Regions from separate parts of the Homo sapiens genome. Here all the other regions are linked to region 2. The links are contacts of gene promoters, found by promoter capture Hi-C in blood cells and fetal thymus (Javierre and others, 2016). All regions are on one chromosome and are shown on one strand. The core of a region is centred on a gene start or on the middle of the fragment in contact, and the rest is flanking DNA. Distances in the headings are between cores, read along the strand shown. Region 1 holds the start of RAB29 (RAB29, member RAS oncogene family). Region 2 holds the start of CTSE (cathepsin E). Region 3 overlaps PM20D1 (peptidase M20 domain containing 1).

What was found. Contacts are between HindIII fragments. The CHiCAGO score rates a contact against its expected background, and 5 or more counts as called.
Region 1: the fragment with the promoter of RAB29 here is called in contact with the fragment with the promoter of CTSE in region 2 in 3 of 17 cell types (M2 macrophages, M0 macrophages and M1 macrophages); the score reaches 6.1 in M2 macrophages.
Region 3: a contact is called between a fragment that was not itself captured here and the fragment with the promoter of CTSE in region 2, in 1 of 17 cell types (naive CD8 T cells). The highest score is 5.5, in naive CD8 T cells.

What each region holds. Positions count from the first base shown.
Region 1 is chr1:205,772,877-205,776,746 of GRCh38, forward strand. It overlaps RAB29 (RAB29, member RAS oncogene family), which reads right to left and starts at 2,606. Exons shown (of 6, transcript NM_003929.3): 1 at 2,397-2,606; 2 at 1,957-2,210. The coding sequence starts at 2,080. RefSeq lists an enhancer at 1,471-1,520. The HindIII fragment of the contact is 8,570 bases long and covers 1-3,870 here.
Region 2 is chr1:206,022,206-206,026,227 of GRCh38, forward strand. It overlaps CTSE (cathepsin E), which reads right to left and starts at 1,690. Exons shown (of 9, transcript NM_001910.4): 1 at 1,519-1,690; 2 at 696-852; 3 at 1-62. The coding sequence starts at 1,586. The HindIII fragment of the contact is 10,319 bases long and covers 1-4,022 here.
Region 3 is chr1:205,839,348-205,843,562 of GRCh38, forward strand. PM20D1 (peptidase M20 domain containing 1) reads right to left here. Exons shown (of 13, transcript NM_152491.5): 7 at 3,329-3,404; 8 at 2,807-2,868; 9 at 2,464-2,542; 10 at 905-976. Among named protein-coding and RNA genes, the nearest start is that of PM20D1, 8.7 kb to the right of the region's middle. The HindIII fragment of the contact is 4,868 bases long and covers 1-4,215 here.

The DNA of each region.
Region 1 (3,870 bases), core at 1,356-3,855, 250 kb before region 2:
TAGTTTCTGGGAGATTTAGGGGGTTTTCTCAGGGAAGGGGTGATGGGGGAGAAGGGGGAAATGAGACAAGTGTGGTTGCTTTCGTATCTTCCACATTCAATTTCACTGTTGGTTTCTAATCAAATTGTATTATGAAAAGAACACACCCTGGGGAACTCTACATCCACCATAAGGTTGCAGGTATTATCTTGGGCAAGAATGGAATAAATGGAAAAGGTCCCAGAGGAGTCCCAAGAAGAAGACACTGTGTGGATGTTGCTGAAGAGTCCTGCTGGAATCTACCACCAAGTCTGCAGGTGCTGAGACTCCTTAAGGCTGAGTAAGTATTCCATGGGGAAAGCCTTTTGGCTAAGGAGAGAAACAGAGTAATTTCTGAGGTTTGGAAATATTATCTTTCACATCTGTGACAGGAATCAAAGCTAAGGGAAATTTAGACTAAACACTGAAAAAAAAATTAGCCAATTATATTCTTTGCTAAAGGAAAACTACAGCAATTGTTAAAAATTAACTATTAATAGCAGGCCACTTTTAACCCAAATCCGTGAAATAGGGACCCTTATATTATTTAGGAGTGGGAGGGCAGAGCGGTCAGGATAGAGTGTCTGAAACTTTGAACCTTTAATTTTGCCAGACTTAAATTTTTTGTTCCTTTGTTTTTGAGACAGGGTCTCACTCTGTTGCCCAGGCTACAGTGCAGTGAGTGGTGCGAACGGGGCTCACTGAAGCCTCGACCTCCCCAGTTCAAGCAATCCTCTCGTCTCAGTTTCCCGAGTAGCTGGGACCACGGCTACTTTCTTCTTTAATTTTTGTAGAGGTGGGGGTCTTGCCATGTTTCCCATGGCTGGTCTCGAACTCCTGGGCTCAAGCAATCCTCCCGCCTCAGCCTCCTAAAGTGCTGGGATTGCAAGTATGAACCACGGTACTGGGCCCTACTGGGGGTTCTTAAGGAGAATGTTTTAATTGCAATGTAAATGTTTGTTAATTTCTTTTTAAACTTCCATATGAACAGGAGCACACATTTTCAATTTTTCCATTGGTACGAGTTTTCCCCCCTTGAAACAAGTTCTTTTAACAGAGAGAAATAAAATTTTAAGTTACTCTCCCCCATCACCAGCTCTTCCTAGCTAAATACCTTCTAATTAACAATAAGGCATTTCTGCCTCTGAAAAAATAGTTGAGTCCAAAGGCCACACCCGGGAAAGAAATGAATGAACTCGGTGTCCCCTTCCTCCCTACCTTCTCCAGTTTGAGGAAAAAAGTGGTGGGAAGATAGGTCAGAGAAGTGGTATATTTCACATTCTTGGAAGAATTCCTTGGTTACCTTTATTTAAGCAATCAACGGACAAAAACACAGCTCATCAGCCCTCATGGGCATCTGACTGCGTAGCCAAGGGGCTCGTTCGGGGATTTTGTGTCTTCCATCCCACCCACAGCCCCACAACAAAGCTACAGTCCTTCAGACCAGTTCCGCTTCCTGCGTTCTCCCACTGAAGCCAGGTTAAACACCTTGCGGTTCCTCCCTCAACAGAGGGGCAGGACTACAGCCCCAGCCGGCACCTAACCAGGAGGCCCCACAGAGGATCTCAGCTGCTTCTGCTGATTGGAGAGATTTGCCGGACAGCTGAAAGGCTGGAGACTTAAGTTCACAGTACGCCTGCAATAAACAGCAATTGCTCATCCTCATCCTCCCTTCCCTATTTCTCATCTTCACGCCTTTGCTCTTACCTTTCTCCTGGCAGTGGGCTCAGTTTGGGAAAATCTAACGGGAAACTCAAGAGAGGCGTGTAAACCAAACACCCGGCAATTACACCATCTAGGTTCCCAGACAGTACTTCCTGACCCGAAGAAGGACCCAACAACCGACAGCAAATCCCCACCCCACTTGGGTCCCCAGCTCGAGTCCGCGGTCGGGGCCTCCTCCTCCCCCTCCCCCTCCCCACCCCCGAGACGTCTCACCTCCCACCGTGGACTTGTAGTGTTTGCTGAAGCTGTCCTGGGAATATCGCTGCACCAGCGACGTCTTGCCCACTGCGGCGTCCCCCACCACCAGCACTTTGAACAGGTGGTCGCGGCTGCCCATGGCTAGCGGGGTGTGCGTTTTAGGGAGGCGGGAAGTGTGGTCGGGGATCGGGGGTCGCTCGTTTTAACCCCTTTGGATCCGGACCCTCTTCAAACTGAAGTGAGGCATTCCCACCCACCGCCTGTCTGGGCTGCTCTGACGAGAAAGCAAAAAAGGAAACTTTGCACTCAACCTATACGCGCTTCCTCCCCGGGCGGCCGCAACCTGGGTGGGGCGCAGGGCGCGAGCTCCGAGCCCCCGGCTGTTCGCACCTTCCCCACCCCCTCCTGGCCTGACTGCCGAGAAACTGGACCAGGCGCCGCGGAACCTCACCCACCGGGACTTCCCCCGAGCGGCTCCAAGTCAGTGACTGAATCCCAGTCAGCTCCTTACACCACTGGGGCCAGATGATGGGGACCCTCCCCTTGCAGCACAAACCAAATTGTGAGGAAGGAGCAGCCGGCACCTCGATTCCCTAGACGCCCTCCCGCGCGCCTCTCTCTCCCCTTCCTCCGCAAGCGTCACGTGCAGGGTTGCCTGTGGCACTACATTTCCCAGCTTTCCTCGCGGTAAAGAGAACCAGCCGAGTGCGGAGGCTCACCGCGAAGCCTCCTGGGAAATGTAGTATATTCGTTATTTTGTTTTAAGCAAACCTACACCAAGTTTCAAGGCTTCAAACTCCCTCGACAGTTTGGAATCTTATTTTGAAACAATTCTAGGTCAGTAAAGATCCCTTAAGGGGAGATTTGTGCAACGTGATCTCACTGGCCTGAATCCATCCCCAGATAGTTTTCTCCTGTCTTTAAAGGTTTAACTGAGTTAAGATTGAAACTTATTTCATTAGTAAAAGCCCAAGCCTCATCCATCATGCTCCAAGTGAAGTCCATTTCCTATTCCTTCAAGTAGATAGACAAGCCCAGGACTTTGTGAAATGACTCATATTTTCTGTGTGAACTTGCCCAATACCAGGCAAGTTCAGGAAAACTTGACCCAAGAGACCAGTCTTTGGAAAAAAACCTATGCCAAAAATTACAGCATTTAATATCCAGCAATAACAATAAAGATGGACAGAAAACAAGAGACAGTTCTCCATTCATACTTCTACAATGCCTATTCTAGCCATACTACTCATGTATCACTTGAGCTAGAAGCTAATTGAAATACACTGGGACTCCTTCTTGATTTGTTGTGGCTGTTGTTAATAGATAATCATAAAACTAGTGTTTGGCAAATAATTTTAATTTCTCAGCCTGTAACTTTACTGACCTACCTGTCACTTGGGTAGAAGTTGGCAGGACATGAGCTCAATGGCAAGCAAAGAGAGCTCCATTTTCTATACTTTTCTAGGAATAGAGGAAGAGAACCAGCGGGGCCATGGGAAAACAGCCCAGGACCAGACACTAGGAAATCTAGGTCTCTTGATAGAGAGGCTATCACTTATGTTTTGTGGCGAAAGAACATCAGCATGGTTCACAATATATTTTGCCCAGAATGTTCGTTACCCAGGTACAGGAGGTTAGTTCAAGCTACTCATCTTTAAGGATCCAGTTTTCTCTGTTCTTATTCGTTTTGACATAGTTGACCACTCCTTGACATTTGTTTCCCTTATGCCTTCTATGACGCTGTTCTTTCTTTGTCATCCCCGTACTTCTCTGATGATTATCTTTTTCTTTCAGGTTTCTCTCCATCCCATTTCCCGCTAAGTATTTCCTAAGGCCTGATTCTTGGTCTCTGAGTCAATCATTCGATAAACTCTTTAGTGAATTGTCCTTGGTGTCAAAGATCTATCTTCACTTTATTTGTTCTTTATC
Region 2 (4,022 bases), core at 440-2,939:
TCGAAGATGACAGTGAAGTTCTGTGGTGGGGAGCCAATGGAGATAGTGCCGAAGTATTCCATCTGCAAGGAAGAGTGAGAAGGAAAGAGGGTGTGGGTGGTGGGGAGGGACAAGGGTGCTCACCAGGAAGCCAGGGGAAAGCTCCCAGGGGCCAGAGCCTGGGGTAATACAGACTGGAGTTTACAGAGCCTAGGAAGTGGCAACGCTGGAAAATAAAAGGTAAAAGGAGCAGAGAAATGGCCATGAAGGAGGAAATCAAACCAAGCCTCTGGCTACTTCATTTGATTTTACTTGCACTAACCTGATTCTTATAAATACATTGTAGGAGAGGCAGTGGAGGAAGAACCATCTGTTTTACAGACCAGGGAACTGGGGCTGGGAGAGGTTAAGTAACTTGCCTAAGGGTACACAGCCAGTAAGCTGCCCAGCTGAGAGCAGAAGCAGGGGCCTTCAGTGTGGGATGATGCTTTCACTCCCAGCCCTTTCCTTCTGCAGAGAACTCTGACATTTGGGTACATGGGGGCCTGCTTAGCCAACTCCATGGGGACCCAGGGAATCAGTCCCCATGGATCATCATCCAAGTGAAGAAATCCACAATGGCCTTCGGTGCTACTGATGTGGCACTGGCCATGCCCTAATGCTGGGCCTTCCTCCCGCTCCCACCTCTCCCCAGCCCTGACCCCAGGAGGCCTCACATCCAAGTAGTTGATGAGGGGTTCCTTGGCACTCTGGTCCATTGAGCAGGACTCGGTGAACTGGATCATGTCCAAATTATGGGATTTCCAGAACTCAGAGAGCTGGCTCCGTGCCCGCAGCTTCTTCTTGAGGGACGGATGCCTCCTGAGGGGCACCCTGGAGACAAACCCCCATGTAAGCAGGAGATGTACTTCTGCCTCCCTCTTCCCCCCATTCTCGTCCCATTTTCTCAGGGGCCAACTAGAGAAGATGGGGTGGGAGGGGGGGATCTGCAAGACAGCACGCAGGATACAGGTGGGATCAGCGTCCTCTCTGCCACTCAGCCTGCCCGGCCTCATCTCTGCCCTATAGAGTCTTAGAATCTTAGAGTGGAAATGGCTCCCCTCCTGGAGCTGAGGTCTTTGAGATCTAGGAAAATGGGAGATGTGGGGCGGTCTACAGTTTTACATGAACATCACGAAGGGCTGATTTAAAGGGACAGAAAAACTCTTGGGGACAGTGATGGTCAGTCCCCTGGGGAAGTCCTGGGGCGCTTTGAGCTACAAACCACAACTGCAGGTTCCTGCTCTTTTGCAACACAAGAAGACCCCTGGGACTTGGGAAGGCACCTCCGTGGAGGTGGAGGCAGGAGGATGACTTGTTGAGGACTGGAGATTAAGGCCATACACAGGCGGTCACTGGATGAGTCTCTTCCATGCATTGACGCAAGCCCTCAGCTTCTCCTCCTCTTCACCTCCCCATCAGCTTTCCTACCCCAGAGCAGCCCTGAGTTGCAGGGCATGGGACTACCCAGCTGAACACAGTGCGGGGACGTCTTCTCACCTGTGAAGGGATCCTTGGGCCTCTCCCAGCTCCAGGAGCACCAGCAGCAAAAGAAGGAGCGTTTTCATTGTGAGTCCGACCAGCAGCTTCTCCCTTGCCCCCTCCTTTCTTCTCTCCCCGAGGGCAGTGGGAACGGACTTTCCCTAACTCTCAGACCTGCCCAGCCCAGTCTGAGGGCCGAATGATAAGGCCCTGGAGTCATTAGCCATGCCCAGAGTAAATACGGCATGTGGAACAGGGCGTTCCCCCTGCACCTCTCCGTCCCTTTCCCACCTACAAGAGGAATATGAGTCTGCGGGGAGAACTTGGGAGTCCTCTGGGGCTTGGCTTCTCTCAGGGCTTTGGCACCTCCTCTGACCCCAAGAAACCCTGTTAATGAATCCGGAGGGCAGCACATGCCTGGCTGCCTGGAAAGGCCCACTGAACTCTTACTGCAAGTGCTCTAGCTGGAGACTCTGGAGGGGTGGGAGCTGACTTGTCATGGGTGGCAGGATTCTAACTCAAAATATTCGTCAGTCTGTTTTCTGGGTGATTCCTGTTCTCTCCTCAATCTCTCAAATGCTCCAAAGGCAGTTTATCCTTCCCTGGCCCACTTTGAAGCACAAACCAGCACTCCTCAAAGGCCCTGAAATGGGAAAATGTAGCTGCAGATTTATGGAGCCCACTCTCCTGACTCTAAGGACTTGATGAATCTGGGGCTGGGGCTCAGGGGTGTGTGGAGGAGAATGCAGGGGCAGCGAGGGAGGGTCAAGGGGGTCAGCGTCTACAGCAAGTGCCCGCATGAGTCTACTAAAGCGGCCATGACAAAGTACAGGGGGCTTAAACAACAGAAATTTATTTTCTCACTATTCTGGAGGCTGGAAGTCCAAGATCAAGGTGTTGGCAGACTTGGTTGCTTCGGAGGCCTCTCTCCTTGGCTTGCAGATGGCTGCCTTCTCTCTGTGTCTTCACATGGGTCTTCCCTCAGCGTGTGGCTGTGTCCACATCCACATTTCCTCTTCTTATAAGGACGCTAGTCATATTGGAGTAGGGCCCACCCTAATGACTGCGTTTACCCTTAATACCTCTTTAAAGACCCTATCTCCAAATACAGTCACGTTCTGAGGTACTAGGTGTTAGGACATCAACATGGATTTTGGAGGACAAAGTTCAGCCCTTAACAGTGCTCAGGGACAATAGGATCTTCTATCTGTCAAGTGGGACTAAGCGCAGGGGTGGAGAGTGGGTGGGGCTCAGGCCTTAGTTACCGCAGTGTGTGAAACCCCCTCACCATCAGCCTATCTCTGTGGCCACCCGCCTCATAAACAGATGGTGGGGCTTCAGTGCCTGGGGTGGGGATGAAGGGGTTACAGGTAGGAAGACCCTGACCCTGACTCAAGTTAGCCAGGGCAGCAGAGGCCACCACCATATGCCAATGCTTCCAGAGGGCACTAGCTCAGCAGTAGGAAGTAGATGGCCTGCGTTTAGGTTTAGCTCTGCCCTGACCAGCTAGTGTTCTGGAAAATCTCTTAAGTGCTATGGGATCTGCCTTTCATCTCTGAAGTTCAAATGGCAAGCAAACGTGGAGTATGGAGCTAAGCCAAACCCACCCTTGGGTCCAAAAATGTTAAAAAAAGACATCAAAAAGACTTAAGGAACAGCCTAGACCTTTGACCCCTGAACCCAAGGCAACAAAGCCTCTTTGGCATTTCCCAGGAGCCCGTCTTGTTGATCTTTCACTGGGGAGAGTGGTCTAAACCTAGAAGGGCAGCTTGAGTCAGAAGTGGCTAGAAGTGGAGATCATTCATTTTGGCAGTAAACTCTGCCATGTTTTGCCCGTAACTGCTTATTCACCACATACCTTAGTTTTGTCATCTGCCAAATACCTTACCTACATCAATGGGTTTTTAAGGAGGATTAAACAAACAAAATAAGGTACAGATATACTTGTTGTACTGCACTCTGCTTTACTGCACTTTGCAGATACTGCTTTTTTTTTTTAATTGAAGGTTTGTGGCAAACCTGTGTCAAGCAAGTCTATCAGCACCATTTTTCCAATACTGTGTGTTCATTTTGTGTCTCTGTGCCACATTTTGGTAATTCTTGCAATATTTCAAAGTTTTTCATGATTATTTTATCTGTTTTGGTGATCTGTACTCAGTGATCTTTGATGTTACTGTTGTAATTGTTTTGGGGTACCACAAACTGCACCCGTGTAAGACAGAGAATTTAATAAGTGTAATTGTGTGTTCTGATTGCTCCATTGCTCTACTAACTGGTCATTCCCCCATCTCTCTCTCTCCCTCTCTTTCTCTCCCCCTCGGGCCTTCCTGTTGCCTGAGACACAACAATATTGAAATTAGGCCAATTAATAATTCTACAGTGACCTCTAAGTGTTTAAGTGAGAGGAAGATTTGCATGTTCCTCATTTTAAATTCAAAGCTAGAAATTATTAAGCCTAGTGAGGAAGCCATGTTGAAAGCCAAGAAGGGCTGAAAGCTAGACCTCTTACACCAAACAGTTAC
Region 3 (4,215 bases), core at 550-3,049, 180 kb before region 2:
TGGCAATTTGTTCACCTCTAATTTTTATAATCATAGTTTAGGGTTGTGGCTAAAAGCACAAACTCTGGAACTAGACTGCTAGATATATAATCTTGGGTATGCTGTTTGATTGCTCTGGTACTCTGTACCTCAATTTTCACCAGTTAAATGCAGATTTAGGGTGGGTAGTTGTGAGGATTAAAATGTATGGGTATACCTTAGAAAGGTGCCAAATATGGCTGGGTGTGGTGGCTCATGTCTGTAATCCCAACCCTTTGGAAGGCCGAGGCGGGTGGCTCACAAGGTCAGGAGATCAAGACCACTCTGGCTAACACGGTGAAACACCGTCTCTACTAAAAATACAAAATACAAAAAATTACAAAAATACAAAGTACAAAAAATACAAAAAATACAAAATACTGAAAATACTAAAAATTAGCCGGGCATAGTGGCACGTGCCTATAGTCCCAGCTACTTGGGAATCTGAGGCAGGAGAATCGCTTGAACCCGGGAGGCGGAGGTTGTAGTGAGCCAAGATCGTGCCACTGCACTCCAGCCTGGGCGACAGAGCAAGACTCTGACTCAAAAAAAAAAAAAAAAAAAAAAAAAAAAGAAAGGAAGAAAGGTGCCAAATACACAGCAAGCCTACTACACTACTACATATATATAATGTTATATATAATGTTTGTTACTATAGGTATTGCTATCATTTATTCATACTCATCTTCCATTTCAGACCCCATGTTTACCCAAACCCAGGATCTCCAATCCTAATGAAGTATCCGGTGCATAGGTTGTCTTTGAAAAATGTTGGTTGAATAAATGGGACACTGGACCAGCCCTAGGACTGTAGTTAAACCCGGGCCCTGAGGGCCACATCTCCCTGATGCTGCATGAGTTGTTGTCTGGAACATATGGTACATACCTCTTGGACTGTCTGTCCAGGGTGAATCCGGAAGTTGACTGTGGCCTGGGCCACTGGGGGGATGACATTGAACTAGAGAGAGAAGCACAAAACCCTGGCTTGAGTCAACCTCAAATCTTCTACATCTGCCTGCCCAGGAAATGCTAATTTCCTCAGCTCAGGCAGAGTTGGCTGATTTGACTTAAGGACCCAAGGCTTAGCTTTTCTAGTCTGCCTCTTGTCTTCTCTGAACTAAGTGACATGTTATATTCAGAGCTGAAGGGGTGTCTCTGCTTTAAGCCAGACCTTCCTGCTTCTTGGTGCTGCAGGGGGTCACAGAGATGTTCAGAGCAAGGCTGCTTTCTCTGATCACCCAGATATCTCTGTTTTGGCCCCATGCTGTGCTATTAGAAGCCTTCTGTGTGCACTTTCTTTCCCAGCACACCCAGGACATTTCTGCAGCTGTTAACATTAGTGCTTACTCACGATGGGGCAGCCAGAGCCTCTGTTGACCCCCATCATGGCATAGCACGGGGCTCACATCAGGTTTGATCCTTGAGGGGGATGAGAAGAACACATACTCCTCACATATTCCTGGTCAGGCAGGAACAAAAGAGTGACAGAAAAGTAACCTTCAGAGTAAGAAAAGGACCCTAGTGCTGGCCAGTGCTCTGCCTGTTCTCACCTATTCCCAGCCAGTGACTGAGCCAAGACAGAGGGATCTGGCTTGTTCTCTAGGGCTGTTAGTATGTTTCTGAGACCCTAAGACCTAACATAACCTTTGGGAGCTGGTTCCCTCTTATCCTTGAGGCTGCTGAGCAATTGTTCTAACCAATCAGATAAGCCAGTCAGGCAGTAATTGCCTCCCCATTCCCGACCTTCTAGCAGGGATTGGTGGTTTCCCAGGTCCAGTTGTAAAATCTGACTTTTTTGCCTGACCAGGAGGAATCCAGGACTAACTGGAGAAAAGAGTTAGGCTATGGAGGGATTGTTCCTTGGAGGCCGGGAGACTCCCCAAGTGCATATCTTTCTTTGAACTCGTATGGTGCAAAAAAGCACTAAGTGGTCAGGGACAGAGCTGGGCTGTTGCAAATTAGCTGTTGCAACCTCTTTGTGCCTCTGTTTTCTCAACTGGGTATTGGGGCAATACTCATAGGACTCTTAGAAGGCTCAGATGGAGTAACAAAGTATCCTGGGGAGATGAAAACACCATTCAAATGTCAGGACACAGTGCTATTATTCTGATGAACACTACAGCTGACACACTGGACGGTCCAGTGAGTTATGCCAGGAATTAATTCAGAGGCATCATTCACTTATATACCCGATTACTAGAGTGCTTCAAGGTCACATTGTACTCTAGGTGAATGGTGCCCCCTGAAGTTGTGCTGGTGGTACTGGCAGTTACAAGAATGGTCTAACTCCCTTCAAGATTTCAGAAAGGCCTATGTCTTTGCGTGGCTAGGCTTGGATCCAGCTGACACACACAGAAGGAAGGAAGAGCCAGTAGATAGATTCAAGGAAGGGAGGAGTGGAGGGCGGTAGGGAAAAGCTATATGGGGAGGAACCAGGGATGTTACCTTGACCCCTGCTTTGAATATGGTGAGTGCCGTGGTGGTCCTGATTATTGCATTGGTTAAGGGATTTCTCTCCATAAACCTAAAACAAAAGGACCAAGGTCAGATGTTAGAAAGAACCAATGGGGTGAAGGAAAGGGCGGAAACATTACCCACTTTCCTGAACCTTGGGGATCTTTAAGACTGAGAGAGACGTCTTAGAGATGTCTTAAATATACACACTTAGAGATGCAGTATCTGGTGGCTGAGGGATGATTAGTCAGGCCCAGTTAAGCCAAGGAGAGGGGCCTGGGGGGTGGGTAGGTTTGAGGTGAGGGATGTGAAAAAAGGAAAGATAATACTTTACCTGCTTATAAGTGGTTCAAATAGCCATGGGTTGCTCAGGATTATATTGACAGGGAAGGGAAACTGGGAAAGAACAAGGTCAGCACCACAGGGTCACCTCTAGTTTAGCCTGGGTCTCTGAGACCTGAGTCTCTCTCTACTTTAGAGCTGCCTCAGGGGCCCTTAGCAGTCAGGAGTGCTGCTAAATTCAGTTAGCTCAATCCCTGCTAGAGGATCAGGAATAGGGAGGCAATTACTGTCTGGCTGGGCTTATCTGGTTGGTTAGAACAATTGCTTAGCAACCTCAAGGATAAGTGGGAACCAGCTCCCAAAGGGTAGATTAGGTCTTAGGGTCTCAGAAACACACTAACAGCCGTAGAGAACAAGCCAGATCCCTGTGTCTTGGCTCAGCCACTGGCTGGGAATAGGTGAGAATAGGCAGAGTGCTGGACAGTACTAGGGTCCTTTTCTTACTCTAAAGGTTACTTTTCTGTCCGTCTTTTGTTCCTAGCTGATTAGGAGTATGTGATACTTCTTCCCATACCTCATTTGCCAGTTGCTGCAATACAGTCACCACTGTCCCGCTTCCAAATATGATAGGCATTGGTGTCTGCTCCAATCTGGAAGAGAAACAGAGTCCTCAAGACTTAGCGAACCCCAGCCAAAGATCAGTGGCTTGAAGAGGAGAAGAAGGGAGATAGGAGGAAGTTTCAACGCTCCTGGCCAAGAGGTCTCTCATTCACCTCCCTCCCACCTCCACCAACTCAACATTCTGAAGATCTCAAAACATCCCCAGGAGCTTTCCCTGTCTACCAAGTCTGCATTAGGGTCCTTCTTTCCTCCCTCTGCTGTTCTCTAGAATCCTGTGTGTCCACTCTCATAGCCCATCCCATACTACAGCAGAATTGTCAGTCTCCTGACAATTTGAATGAATATAGCACTCCTTCCCACTTTGCTAAGAAAACCCAGCCAGGAGTAAGCTCTGCTGTTACAGATTCTGCTGTCCTCATTCATAGCCAGCAACTCTTATTTATTTTTGTCCTCCTGCCAGGACAGGTGGAGAATTTCGACAGCTCTACCAGTCATTGCCAATTTGTGATTCTAAATGTCTGGACTCTGGACTACTCTAGCTGCCTGACCTAGCTTCTGCCTGTAGGTCCTTGCTTTCCATATGGATATACTGACAGATCCTCTTCTGACTCCAGCCCTTGCAGGATACTGGTGGCTCTGTCTCTCCTGTGGCTCCCCCAACCCCCACCTTGGAAGGAATTCTCACTCCATTTGAGATGACCCCAGCCTGGTATCTGTGAGCCATGCTGAGATAACTCTTTATTTACACCTGTTGTATTAATCACCTGGATCTTTAGTCTGTCCTGGGCTTCCCCTTCTGTTCTTCCTCTAGTGTCAATTTTTTATAGCATAGTTTCCCAG